Regions from separate parts of the Homo sapiens genome. Here region 1 is linked to region 2. Evidence: promoter capture Hi-C in human tissues and cell types (Jung and others, 2019). All regions are on one chromosome and are shown on one strand. Each heading gives the region's core, a stretch centred on a gene start or on the middle of the fragment in contact. The rest is flanking DNA. Distances are from core to core; before and after follow the strand shown. Region 1 overlaps MOK (MOK protein kinase). Region 2 holds the start of EIF5 (eukaryotic translation initiation factor 5).

Region 1 (5,889 bases), core at 2,561-5,060, 1.0 Mb after region 2:
TCAGATACATTAAAAAAATTACATATTTATATTCAGTCTTTTTCTTTTTTTTCTTTTCTTTTCTTTTTTTTTTTTTTTTTTTTTTTTTGTGATGGAGTTTCGCTCTTGTTGCCCAGGCTGGAGTGCAATGGTGCTATGATCTTGGCTCACCGCAACCTCCGCCTCCTGGGTTCAAGTGATTCTCCTGCCTCAGCCTCCCGAGTAGCTGGGATTACAGGCATGCACCACCACACCTGGCTAATTTTGTATTTTTAGTAGAGACAGGGTTTCTCCATGTTGGTCATGCTGGTCTCGAACTCCTGACCTCAGGTGATCCGCCTGCCTCAGCCTCCCAAAGTGCTGGGATTACAGGCGTGAGCCACCGCACCCAGCTGTATTCAGTCTTTCTCTGTGCATGTGTTGTGTGTATGATCATTATCATCCTTTTTTTCACTTAACATGAAATTATGGCTGAACATTTTCCCATGTCATGAAATATTATTTGAAAGCATCGTTATCAATGGTTACATAATATTTCAGTCTGTGGCTATTTCATAGTTTGTTAGAACATTTCCTTGATACTGGATATTTAAGTTTCTGGCATTCTTACTTTTGTGACACTGTGAATACCATCTTTGTTTATGAAGTTTTTTGTTTGTTCATTTGTTTTTTGTTTTTGAGATGGAATCTAGCTCTGTCACCCAGGCTGGAGTGCAGTGGCACAATCTCCGCTCACTGCAACCTCCGCCTCCCAGGTTCAAGCGATTCTTATGCCTCAGCCTTGCTAGCAGCTGGGATTGCAGGTGTGCGCCACCCTCCTGGCGAATTTTTGTATTTTTAGTAGAGATGGGGTTTCATTATGTTGGCCAGGCTGGTTTGGAACCCTTGACCTCAGGTGATCTGCCCACCTCAGCCTCACAAAGTGCTGGGATTACAGGCATGAGCTACCACACCCAGCCTCAATGTGGCTGTTAATGTACAGATTCACTCATATACAAATTGAATGGTTTTAATACTAAAATAATATTTAATTCCCCAAGCTTTTTTTTTTTCCTGTTGGTTTTTGTTTCTCTAAGTGTAATGGCACAAGAGAGAACAGATTGTGGACTTTCTATTTAAGAGGTTTATGGCTTTATGAGGAGAAGGTGCATAGTGGAGCATGAGCAGTTCTGTAACAGGAGGACAAGGTGCACACAGAAGGAAGAAAGACATCTGCTTGAAAGCTTCCCAGGCCGGTCCTGGAAGATTGGAATCCAGAGCACCATGTATTTGGTATTACACACTATGTACTCCATAATTAGTTGTTTTTTTGTTTTGTTTTGTTTTGTTTTGTTTTTTGAGATGGAGTCTTGCTCTGTTGCCCAGGCTAGAGTGCAGTGGTGCTATCTCGGCTCACTGCAAGCTCCACCTCCTGGGTTCACGCCATTCTCCTGCCTCAGCCTCCTGAGTAGCTGGGACTACAGCTGTCTGCCACCATGCCCGGCTAATTTTTCACATTTTTAGTAGAGATGGGGTTTCACCGTGTTAGCCAGGATGGTCTCGATCTCCTGACCTTGTGATCCACCCGCCTCAGCCTCCCAAAGTGCTAGGATTACAGGCATGAGCCACCGCACCCGGCCTATGTACTCCATAATTTGACCATTGATATTTTCTAAACAAAAATGTTCCATTTCCTCCCTCCCTCTTTTATAAGGAAAGGACCTAAAATTAGGGGTATAGGGACATACTGTAAATTCTCAAGACTAGGGATTACGTCTTAATGATATTTGTGTCTACAGTGCATGGCACAGTGTGTGGTATATAGCTGGTGCTAAGAAGTCTTTATTATTATTATTGTTAGTTTTTTTTTTTTTGAGACAGAGTTTTGCTCTGTTGCCCAGGCTTCAGTACAGTGGCGTGATCTCGGCTCACTGCAACCTCCGCCTCCCAGGTTCAGACAGTTCTTCTGTCTCAGCCTCCCAAGTAGCTGGGATTACAGGCACAGGCCACCATGCCTGGAAAATTTTTTGTATTTTTAGTAGAGATGGGGTTTCACCATGTTGGCCAGGCTGGTCTCAAACTCCCGATCTGAGGTGATCTGCCCACCTTGGCCTCCCAAAGTGCTGGGATTACAGGTGTGAGCCACCGCACTTGGCTGCAAGCAGACCTTTCTAAGGAGAGAAGTCCCAGGCCTGCTGTGTGAGCTCTTCTGCACAATGAAGACACTGATCTTCTTGTAGAGAAATTTCTGGGCTTTCCAGTTTAATTCATTTAAGAGAAGGGGTAAATTTTGGTGGTGTTTTAGCAAGCAACAGCTATCCCTTGACTAGTATGAACAGGGCCTGGTAGGTCAGTATGAGGGTCTGCTTGAGGGCAGAAGATGTTTAGGCTGTTGAATTTTCCCACAAAGTTTCAAGTTTGGAGGCTCCTCAAGAAACTTGTCAAAATTACTTAATGAGGTTTTAAACTGTACAAATTAGTGGTCAGGGCCAGGGCCTGTATTTTGGTCCATTTCTTTTGCAGAAGCTTCTTGGAGATGCACCAAAGAATCTTTATTGCCTGGTTTTAGGATTTAATGGAATTTAATTAGGTTTCCAGTTGTAGAGAGGCTCTGGGACTTAGTTAAGCTATAGTTGTCAAGCAAGTTATGGCTTCCGGTTTTTTGTCAGAAGGGATATGGTACCGTGCTCTGTCCTGAAGCCTCAGCGGGGCTCACTCCTGCCTTACATTAGCCAGTTTCTCCCAGAAGGCAAGTGAGAACAATAAAGCTAGCAGAATAGTTCTGAAACCCTGCCTTGCTGGGAGCTAGATTAGTTCCTCTTTTATTCAGGGAAAACTTGGATAAAAGGGATTCTAATAGCATAGTTTGAAGATCTTCGGTTTGGGGATCTAGAGCGGTGCTGGGGGATGTTAACTGGTGTTCTCTGGTTGTATCTCACACCCCTCTCATATACCCCACCTCCATTTGGAGACTCATCTCATATGCAGGGAAAGGCATTGAGGAATTCTGCAAACACATTTTGCCGTATTTAACTCTGTATTTCCTAAATTTATTTGCTTATGGAACCCTCTTTTGTGGAATACCCATTAGGGTTCAGGGATCCTCGTGTTTTGTAGTACTCAGTTTGGAAAATGCTAGTCTGGAGATTCAGCATCCTCAGGTTGTTTTTCCTGGAAGTGGTAATGGAGAGCAGCCCTTCCTGGTGCAGTAGGCCACCTTTCTTTTGCTCATAACACAGACCAGTTGTGACACTTGGCTCTGTCTCAGGCTGTGACTTTTAATATACCGATTTACTTATACACAAATTGAATGGTTAATGTTCCATTCCCCAAGCCTTTTTTGTTCATTTTTACTATTTTTTTTGTTTGTTTGTTTCTCTCTTTTTTTTTTGAGACTGAGTTTTGCTCTTGTTGCCCAGGCTGGAGTGCAGTGGCGTGATCTCGGCTCACCGCAACCTCCTCCTCTTGGGTTCAAGCGATTCGCCTGCCTCAGCCTTCCTGAGTAGCTGGGATTAGAGGCATGCACCACCACACCCGGCTAATTTTGTATTTTTAGTAGAGATGGGGTTTTTCCATGTTGGTCAGGCTGGTCTTGAACTCCCGACCTCAGATGATCTGCCCACCTCGGCCTTCCAAAGTGCTGGGATTATAGGCGTGAGCCACCATACCTAGTCTTTTTTTTTTTTTTCTCTAAGTGTAATGCATTTTATCTCCTGCTTCTTGTAAGTTTCCAGGACCAAGTAATACTCAAACCCTTCCCAGAGGGTTTTCATTTCGAACAAGGAAGCCACCTGGGAAATAGGGTGGAGACCTGTTTTGAGAAACCAGAAGAGGATGTCTCGTTCTAACCATGGAGAAAAAGAATCTAGTCTCCTTGTTAGGAAGACTGTTGAAGAAGTGTTCTTTATCCTTTAGTTCTTATTAAGAGAATTGTTTTAGTTTCAATTGTAAGGACCAGTAAATCTCCTTACACCTCACAGTATGGAGACATATTATTATAACTGTTGACAAAGAAGGAGCTTGAGGGCTGGGTGCAGTGGCTCACGCCTATAATCCCAGCACTTTGGGAGGGTGAGGCGGGTGGGAAGCTGAGGCGGGTGGATTACCTGAGGTTAGGAGTTCGAGACCAGCCTGGCCAACATGGTGAAACCCCATCTCTACTAAAAATACAAAAATTAGCTTGGTATGGTGGCACACACCTGTAATCCCAGCTACTTGGGAGGCTGAGGCACGAGAATCTCTTGAACTTGGAAGATGGAGGTTGTAGTGAGCCGAGATCACTTGGGCAACACAGTGAGACTCTGTCTCAAAATAAAATAAAATAAAATAAAAATAAAAAACAGGAGCTTAAAAATAGGAAAACCCGAGAGCAGGAGGGAATTGGCCCTCTTAGGAACTAGAATAGTATTGAAAGCAGATTGTTTTGCACCTTAGCAGTAGGGATTTGTAGACGTGCATATTCTGCCATTAATGAGATTTCTCAGTCTGTGTTTCTTTGTGATTTTCCCTGTATATACTTTTACTGTGTATCATTTCTGTTCCTTATACTCTCTGCTTATTCCTAACTCTGTTTTTTTTTTCTGATTTTATTTTGGAGTATAACATAATACAGAAAACTGCACAAATTGGCCAAGCGCAGTGGCTCGTGCCTGTAATCCCAGCACTTTGGGAGGCCAAGACGGGCGGATCACTTGTGCTGAGGAGTTTGAGACCAGCCTGGGCAACATGGTGAAATCCTGTCTCTACAAAAAATACAAAACAATTAGCTGGGCATGGTGGCGGGTGCCTGTAGTCCCAGCTACTCAGAAGGCTGAGGTGGGATGATCGCTTGAGCCTAGGAGGTGGAGGTTGCAGTGAGCCGAGGTTGCACCACTGCTCTCCAGCCTGGGCAACGGAGTGAGACCCTGTCTCAAAACAAAACAAAACAAAACAAAGCTGCACTTACATTTAAGTATACAAGTTGGTGAAGTGAACATGCCAATGAAACCTGCTTCCAGATCAAGAAGCAGAGTGTTACTGGTATCATGGGTGTCCCCTTCAGCCCATTCTGGTCACTTCACCCCACAAGGGTAACCACTTTCTGATTTCCAACACCACAGAGTTGTCTGTTTTAATGGAGTTATTGAAATATACATACTATAACGTTCACTCATTTAAAGTATACTGCTCAGTGATTTTAAGTATATTTTCTGAGTTGTGTAACTATAACTATAATCTAATGTTAAAATATTTTCATCATCCCCAAAAGAAACCTGTACCCCAAAAGAAATAAGGAGTGGTTACTCCTTTATCCCACATTCCACCAGCCCTAGGCAATTACAAATCTATTTCCTGCCTCTATAGATTTGCTTATTCTGGACATTTCATATAAGTGGGATCACATAATATGTGGCATTTTGTGCCTGATTTCTTTCACTTAGCATAATGTCCTCAAGGCTCATCCATGCTGTAGCATGTATCAGTACTTCATTCCTTTTCATGGCTGAGTAATATTCCATTGTATGGATAGACCACATTTTGTTTATCCGTTCATCTCCTGATGGACATTTGGATGCTTTCCACCTTTCAGATATTATGAATAATGCTACTGTGAACATTCACTTACAGGTTTTTGTTTGGACATACGTTTTTGTTTCTCTTAGGCATATATGTAGGAGTGGAATTGCTGGGTCATATGGTAACTCTGTTTAACATCTCAGGCCGGGTGCGGTGGCTCACGCCTGTAATCCCAGCACTTTGGGAGGCCGAGGCGGGTGGATCATGAGGTCAGGAGATCGAGACCATCCTGGCTAACAAGGTGAAACCCCGTCTCTACTAAAAATACAAAAAATTAGCCGGGCGCGGTGGCGGGCGCCTGTAATCCCAGCTACTCGGGAGGCTGAGGCAGGAGAATGGCGTGAACCCGGGAAGCGGAGAGCTTGCAGTGAGCCG
Region 2 (6,021 bases), core at 2,081-4,580:
GCAGTGGCACGATCTCAGCTCAGTGCAACCTCTGCCTCCAAGGTTCAAGCGACGCTCATGCCTCAGCTACCGGAGTAGCTGGGATTACAGGAGCACACCACCATGCTAAGCTAGTTTTTGTGTTTTTAGTAGACGGGTTTCACTATGTTGGCCAGGCTGGTCTTGAACTCCTGGCCTCAAGTGATGTGCCCGCCCTGGCCTCCCAAAATGCGGGGAATACAAGCATGAGCCACCGTGCCCAGTCTCCCTTACATTCCTATTACAAAAAAACCTTCTATTTTGTTCCCAACAGTTAGTAACTTATCTTAGGATCTTAGGAGTTCATCATGGAAGACTCACCAGGTGGGTTTTTGAGAATGAATGTGCAGAGTTTATGATGTGTGTCAAGCATGCCTCGATAGCCACAGGCTTTACAAGAATTACCTATTGTTTGCTTCTTTGGATTGACATGCTGCCAAAAAAATAACAAATGTTATCCATAATATAACATGAAAATATCTAATCAGAGGACATCTAAACCACAGACAGCTTCACATGCAAAGAAAACTTTTTTCACACAGTGACCTACTTTAAAAAAAAGAATGGAAATATCTCGAAAACTGGAGTTTTGTGTTTGATTTAAAATTACATTTGCTCTGCCTTCTCAGGAAGGTGACTTAGCGGTATCACAGAAGCAGGTATATGGCTTTTTCTTTCGACAACCACAAAAGCACTTACCAAATCTGTTTCAGGATTCTCACATTCAGGACAGAGAACAAATTTTTTAATGAATCCATCCAACATGTCTTGCAGCTTATTCGCCTCATGAGATCCATTGACAATGTAACGGTCATTCTTAACATCAAACTGGGTCTGTGCTCCCAGCTCACAACCAAAATATTTGGTGGGATCTATTTGAATGAAAAAGGAGTTTGGATCGTTACAGTTAACTAGATCTCTGGCTACTCACTCACATTTGTACGAACACCACTTTTTTTTTTTTTTTGAGACAAGAGTCTCACTCTGTCACCCAGGCTGGAGTGCAACGGCGTGGTCTCAGCTCACTGCAACCTCCGTTTCCGGGGTTCAAGCGATTCTCCCCCTTCAGCCTCCCAAGTAGCTGGGACTACAAGCGCATGCCACCACGCCTGGCTAATTTTTGTATTAGTAGTAGACTCAGGATTTCACTATGTTGGCTAGGCTGGTCTAGAACTCCTGACCTCGCGATCCGCTTGCCTCAGCCTTCCAAAGTGCTGGGGGTTACAGGTGTGAGCCAACGCGCCCAGCCATCCACTCTTTAAATGCGTTCCCCTGGTAGTTTTGTAAACTCATGGCAACCAATAAACCACGGTTCCTCACTTAACTTGTAAGGTAATTAGCTAGCATACAATTAGAACAAGTTTTGCAGCTCAAAGACTTTGAAGACTCTATCCATAATATGCCCTGTGGACTTTTCCAAGCTTTACTTACACGTTGGAGGCCGATTAAGCGCCTTTGCAACGTCAACCATGTTGACTATAACTGTCTTGATTCCATTGCCTTTGCCCTCAACCTAAAGGAAATAAGAATTTTAGTTGTGCAGTTTCCCCTGACAAATGCAAACTTCAAAATTCTACAAAAAGAGCTATCAACTAAATTGAAGAGCAGTTTATTACCTTGGCAATCAGACGGGGCATCTTGTAGCGATAGAACTGGTCTGACACGCTGCGGTTGACATTGACAGACATTTTGGCTTATTAGTGGCTTTATCAATAAGATGAAGAGATCTTTGATTGCAACTTTTTGGTATCTTCTGTCTGGAGAAGAAGGGATGACATAAACGACTGCAAGAGTTCTCGGTCTCTGACATGAAAAAATTTTCGCCACTGAGGCTGTAAGCTTCTTGCTTGTATGCTATGTTTCCCCAATACAGGTACCAATGGCTGCGCAACAGCTCTGAAAGAAAAAGGGAAAGAACACACAAAAATCCCCCCAGGTTTAACATCATCGCTGGATGGAAACGCCTCCTTTTTACATCCTAGTTATGCTTCTGCTTAACTCCACCTTAAAAAGCATCTGAGATCACATGCAAACAGCCATTCTCATGTAACACAGTACAATCTGCGGGAACATAAAAAGGCCTCCATTTCGACTAAGCTGTGACTGGTAGGGAAATGCCTGACAAGAAAACACAAGCTGTGCTGCCTCAGCCGCCGTGAGATTCCATCAGACCGAGGGCAATCAGCAGGTTTGCCTCTGCGGCCATCCTGGAAGTGCTGAAGAACGAACCCGAGCCCTCTCCGCCGCCCACCCCGCCTGGATAAGCAAACTTCTCAGGCACACCCCCGTTCGTCTTCATTTTTAAGGGCAACCTAGGGAACTGTTCTCTACAACTAATCGTTGCTTCGGCAACCATGGCTTACTTCAAAGCAGCACTTCCTTAAACGCAGCGCTCGCCCACAATTTGCCATTAAGCAAGAGAGCGCGAGCGAACGCCAGGCTCGCCCCGGCCTCCCTTTTCCTCGCTATTCAAATACTCGGTTAACCTTCGCCCTGGTCCCCATGGCTACCGCGCTCCGAGGCGTTTCCGCGGGGGCTGGCGAACCGGGCAGCTCCGCGAAGGAGGGGGGCGCGCGACCGGGGCGTCTGGCCCCATCCCCAGCGCGTCCCCCGAGAGCCGGCGGCCCCGGAGGGTGCACAGCCGGGAAGCGACACACGGCCGAGGGGTGCCGGGATCGGGCCGCCCCCGCCCCAGAGCGCGCGATGACTCACAAATGCAGCAGCTGAAGCCTGAGTCAGCCCGAGCGGCGGGCACGCGCGACGCGCTCCCGCCATGCCGGGGAGGGGGCGAGGCCGGGCCGGGGAGCGCGCGGGGAGGGGGCGGCCGGCGCCCGGGCCCGCGCCCGCCCGCCGTCCGCCCAAACTGCGCCACACGCCGCGGCGGGGTCACGCGGCGGCCGCCGCCATCTTGTGCGGCCGCCATCTCCTGGCCCGCCGCGCCCGCGACTCACCGTTTTCGTCAAATAAAGACATAAACCCAACGCTGCTCGCCCGGGACTGGGATGAAGTGAGGCGCGATATAAACCCGAGTCCGAGTCCGAGGAGGCGGAGGCGAAGCGCAGCGAGGAGCGGCCGGGCCAGGTGCCGCCGCCGAGCAGCGGGGAGGGGCTGTCCCAGCGACGTCCGCGGTCCACACCCGTCAGCGCCGGAGCTGGGCGACCTGGCGCGGAGAGACGGCGCCGTGAGCCGTGGGCGGTCGGGGAGTGCACCTTCCCCGCCAGCCAGCGGCCCGAGGGGTCGAGGGGGCGGGAAGCACCGGGCAGGGGGCCGCCCCTTCACCGGACTCACCTCTGGAATGTTCTCGCTCTGACTGAACAACGCCGCCGCCGCGCTCAAGCTACCCTCGGCCCCAGCGTCCGCCCCCCGCGTCAGGCCTCACTGCCCATTGGCTGGAGGCCTGCCACAGCTCGCTCGTCATTGGTTCGCTTGCGACGTCAATCGCATCTTTCCGCGCCCCTTCTGCTTCCTGAGGCTCAACTCGCGGCCTCGGCCCGCCTCCAGCCCCGGTCTCGCTTCCTTCCTCTCCCCTCCCCCCGCCTTTCCCAGAGGTCTTCGCGGCGCAGCCCTTGGGTCTCGCGAGACCCGGAGTGGCCCTGGTGGCGGGGCCGGGGTACCGGGGGCCGTTCTTTGTCGGTTTGGGCCTTGAGGGGGAGATGGTGGTTGGTCCCCTCCCTCGCCGGGTCTGGGACAGGCCGCGGCGTCATGGCGACTCCCGGGACGCAGGAGCCATCGTCCTCGAAACTGCTTTCGAGGCCGTGTTTTTGCGGCTGCCACCTTCGGGGAGAGGAACCCGACCGCGTTCTCCCCGCAGCGGGCGCTCATCTCCCTTTCCCGTTCTCCCGGGACGCCCGACTCCGGGCCTCGAGGAATGAGTTGTTTTTCCACCTTAAGCCCCAGGCCTGGGTCTTTCATCCCAGGGACGTCTTCTGTTTCGGACTCGGGGTGGATTGGCCGCTGGCGGAACGAGTCCGTGACTCGCCAGTGACCGCCCAGGGCGGTCGCGAGGCCGCGCCGCCTCGGTGTCGGCCCGCAACCCAGCCTGCGCGCTTAGCTCAGCGCGTCGCCTCCCGTTTTCGGAAGAGGAGGCCCTTAATTGGTTTGGAATCCTGGGGCCTCCTGAAGGCGCTTCGTGGTGGGTTCCCACCTTCTGGTGAAGGCCTCCCTGCTCTCCCAGGGTTGAAAAGCGCTATCCTTCGTGCTTCTCTTGTCACCTTTCTCCTAGTGGGCATCACGTCGAGTCCACCCCCTCTAGTTTATGACTTGTGAATTCTTTGATAAGCAAATCGTAGCCCAGAGCAGGCATTTATAATGAGATTCCAATGTATTCCGTTGAAAATTACTATTATTTAGGCCGGTCGCGGTGGCTCACGTCTGTAATCCCAGCACTTTGGGAGGCTGAGGTGGGCGGATCACCTGAGGTCGGGAATTTGAGACCAGCCTGGCCAATATGGTGGAACCCTGTCTCTACTAAAAATACAAAAAATTAGCTGGGCGTGGTGGCTCGCTTGTAATCCCAGCTACTCGGGAGGCTGAGGCAGGAGAATCCTTGAACCCGGGAGGCACAGGTTACAGTGAGCCGAGATCACACCACTGCACTCCAGCCTGGACAACAGAGCGAGACTGTCTCCAAAAAAAAAAAAAAAGAAAATTTTTATTATTTAGAGAGAGGCTCTCATATTTTAGTTCTGTTGAAACTCTCCCATTCTTTCTGAAACTTGGATTTTTTTTGTGAAAACTTGAGTCTTAAAAACACATCCATAGTTCACCCTGAAGTTTGAAGACCTCACTTGACTGATGGAGCGAGAGCCCCGCTAACCTGCACTCTGGTCTCTAAGGTGCAGTCATCGAGAAGTCCTGAGCGGCCGTGCAGGTTTCCCGATCTGGAAAAGAGAAATGTTGCTGAGGACAGGATGAGGTAGATAAGGGGCTGCCCTTTGTTTTGGACCAGTTGCATTTGCACTGAGGTTAGAATTGGCAGCTATGTTGATTTTTATATCAAAATCCAAGATCGTGCTTCCATAACTAAAAGCTTTATAAACAACTTAAAAATTGGCAGTGTTGGTAGGAAGAAATAAAGGCACAATCCAGAATTGAGAGGTGATTTGTGTCCTTTAGGGCAGGGACTTTTATAATCCCGCAGTGTGTACCTTGGTGTATAGTTGTTAAGCCAAGTGCACAGTGCCTTGTGAGTACCAGGGTTCCCATCAGACAAACTAGAAAAGGGGATCCCAGACATGCTGCTGCTGTTTCACTGTGGAGCATGACTTAGCAGTATTGAAACAGATCTGACTTTTTGCTTGGCAGCACAAAAATGATGTTATTTTAGAAACTCTGTTGGAAAGTATAGGCATGAAACTAGTCTGAGGTGAGAGGCCTGCCTTTTCAGAAAAGTTTTAATGAAACACGAAGTAATTAGCTTTTTTGTATGTTTAGTGGCACAATTTTTAATTTCGTTGAAGTTTGTAATAATTTTAACTGCTTTTTAATATGTGTACCACTCATTTGTATGCAACCATGGACAACTTAAAAAAATACTTTTGTGTTCTTTTTCTCCCTTTTATTTTTAGTTAATACATAATAACACATTTGTGGGATACAAAGTGATATTTCAGTACATGTATACAACGTGTAATGATCAAAGCACAGTAATCAGCATATCCATCACCTCAGATGTTTATCATTTCTTTGTGTTGGGAACATTCAGAATTCTCTCTTCTAGCTTTTTGAAAATATACAATAGATTGTTGTTAAGTATATTTACCTTGAAATACTACAGAGCACTAGAACTTATTGAGCTGCAATTTTGTATCAACCTCTCCCTCTCCTCTCCTCCCACTAGCCTTCCCAGCTTCTAATAAACCACAATTCAAGTCTCTACTTCCATGAACTCGAATTTTTTTTTAGCTCCCACATATGAATGAGAATATGTGGTATTTATCTTTCTGTGCCTGACTTATTTCACTTAATATGATACTGTCCTCCAGTCTCAGCCATGTTGCTTCA

Evidence for each region. The method cuts DNA at HindIII sites, captures the fragments that hold promoters and counts their contacts. A contact is called where the count stands out against the background at its distance.
Region 1: a fragment that was not itself captured here is called in contact with the fragment with the promoter of EIF5 in region 2 in 1 of the 25 tissues and cell types used here (adrenal gland).

What each region holds. Positions count from the first base shown.
Region 1 is chr14:102,287,901-102,293,789 of GRCh38, reverse strand. The region is part of intron 1 of MOK (MOK protein kinase); the gene reads left to right. Among named protein-coding and RNA genes, the nearest start is that of MOK, 14 kb to the left of the region's middle. The HindIII fragment of the contact is 3,933 bases long and covers 1,844-5,776 here.
Region 2 is chr14:103,331,546-103,337,566 of GRCh38, reverse strand. EIF5 (eukaryotic translation initiation factor 5) reads right to left here and starts at 3,330. Exons shown (of 12, transcript NM_001969.5): 1 at 3,307-3,330; 2 at 2,970-3,178; 3 at 1,635-1,914; 4 at 1,450-1,531; 5 at 718-890; 6 at 340-451. The coding sequence starts at 1,706. EIF5-DT (EIF5 divergent transcript) reads left to right here and starts at 2,907. Exons shown (of 1, transcript NR_158216.2): 1 at 2,907-5,895. RefSeq lists silencers at 2,475-2,714, 2,825-2,874, 3,015-3,434 and an enhancer at 3,755-3,874. The HindIII fragment of the contact is 9,721 bases long and covers 1-6,021 here.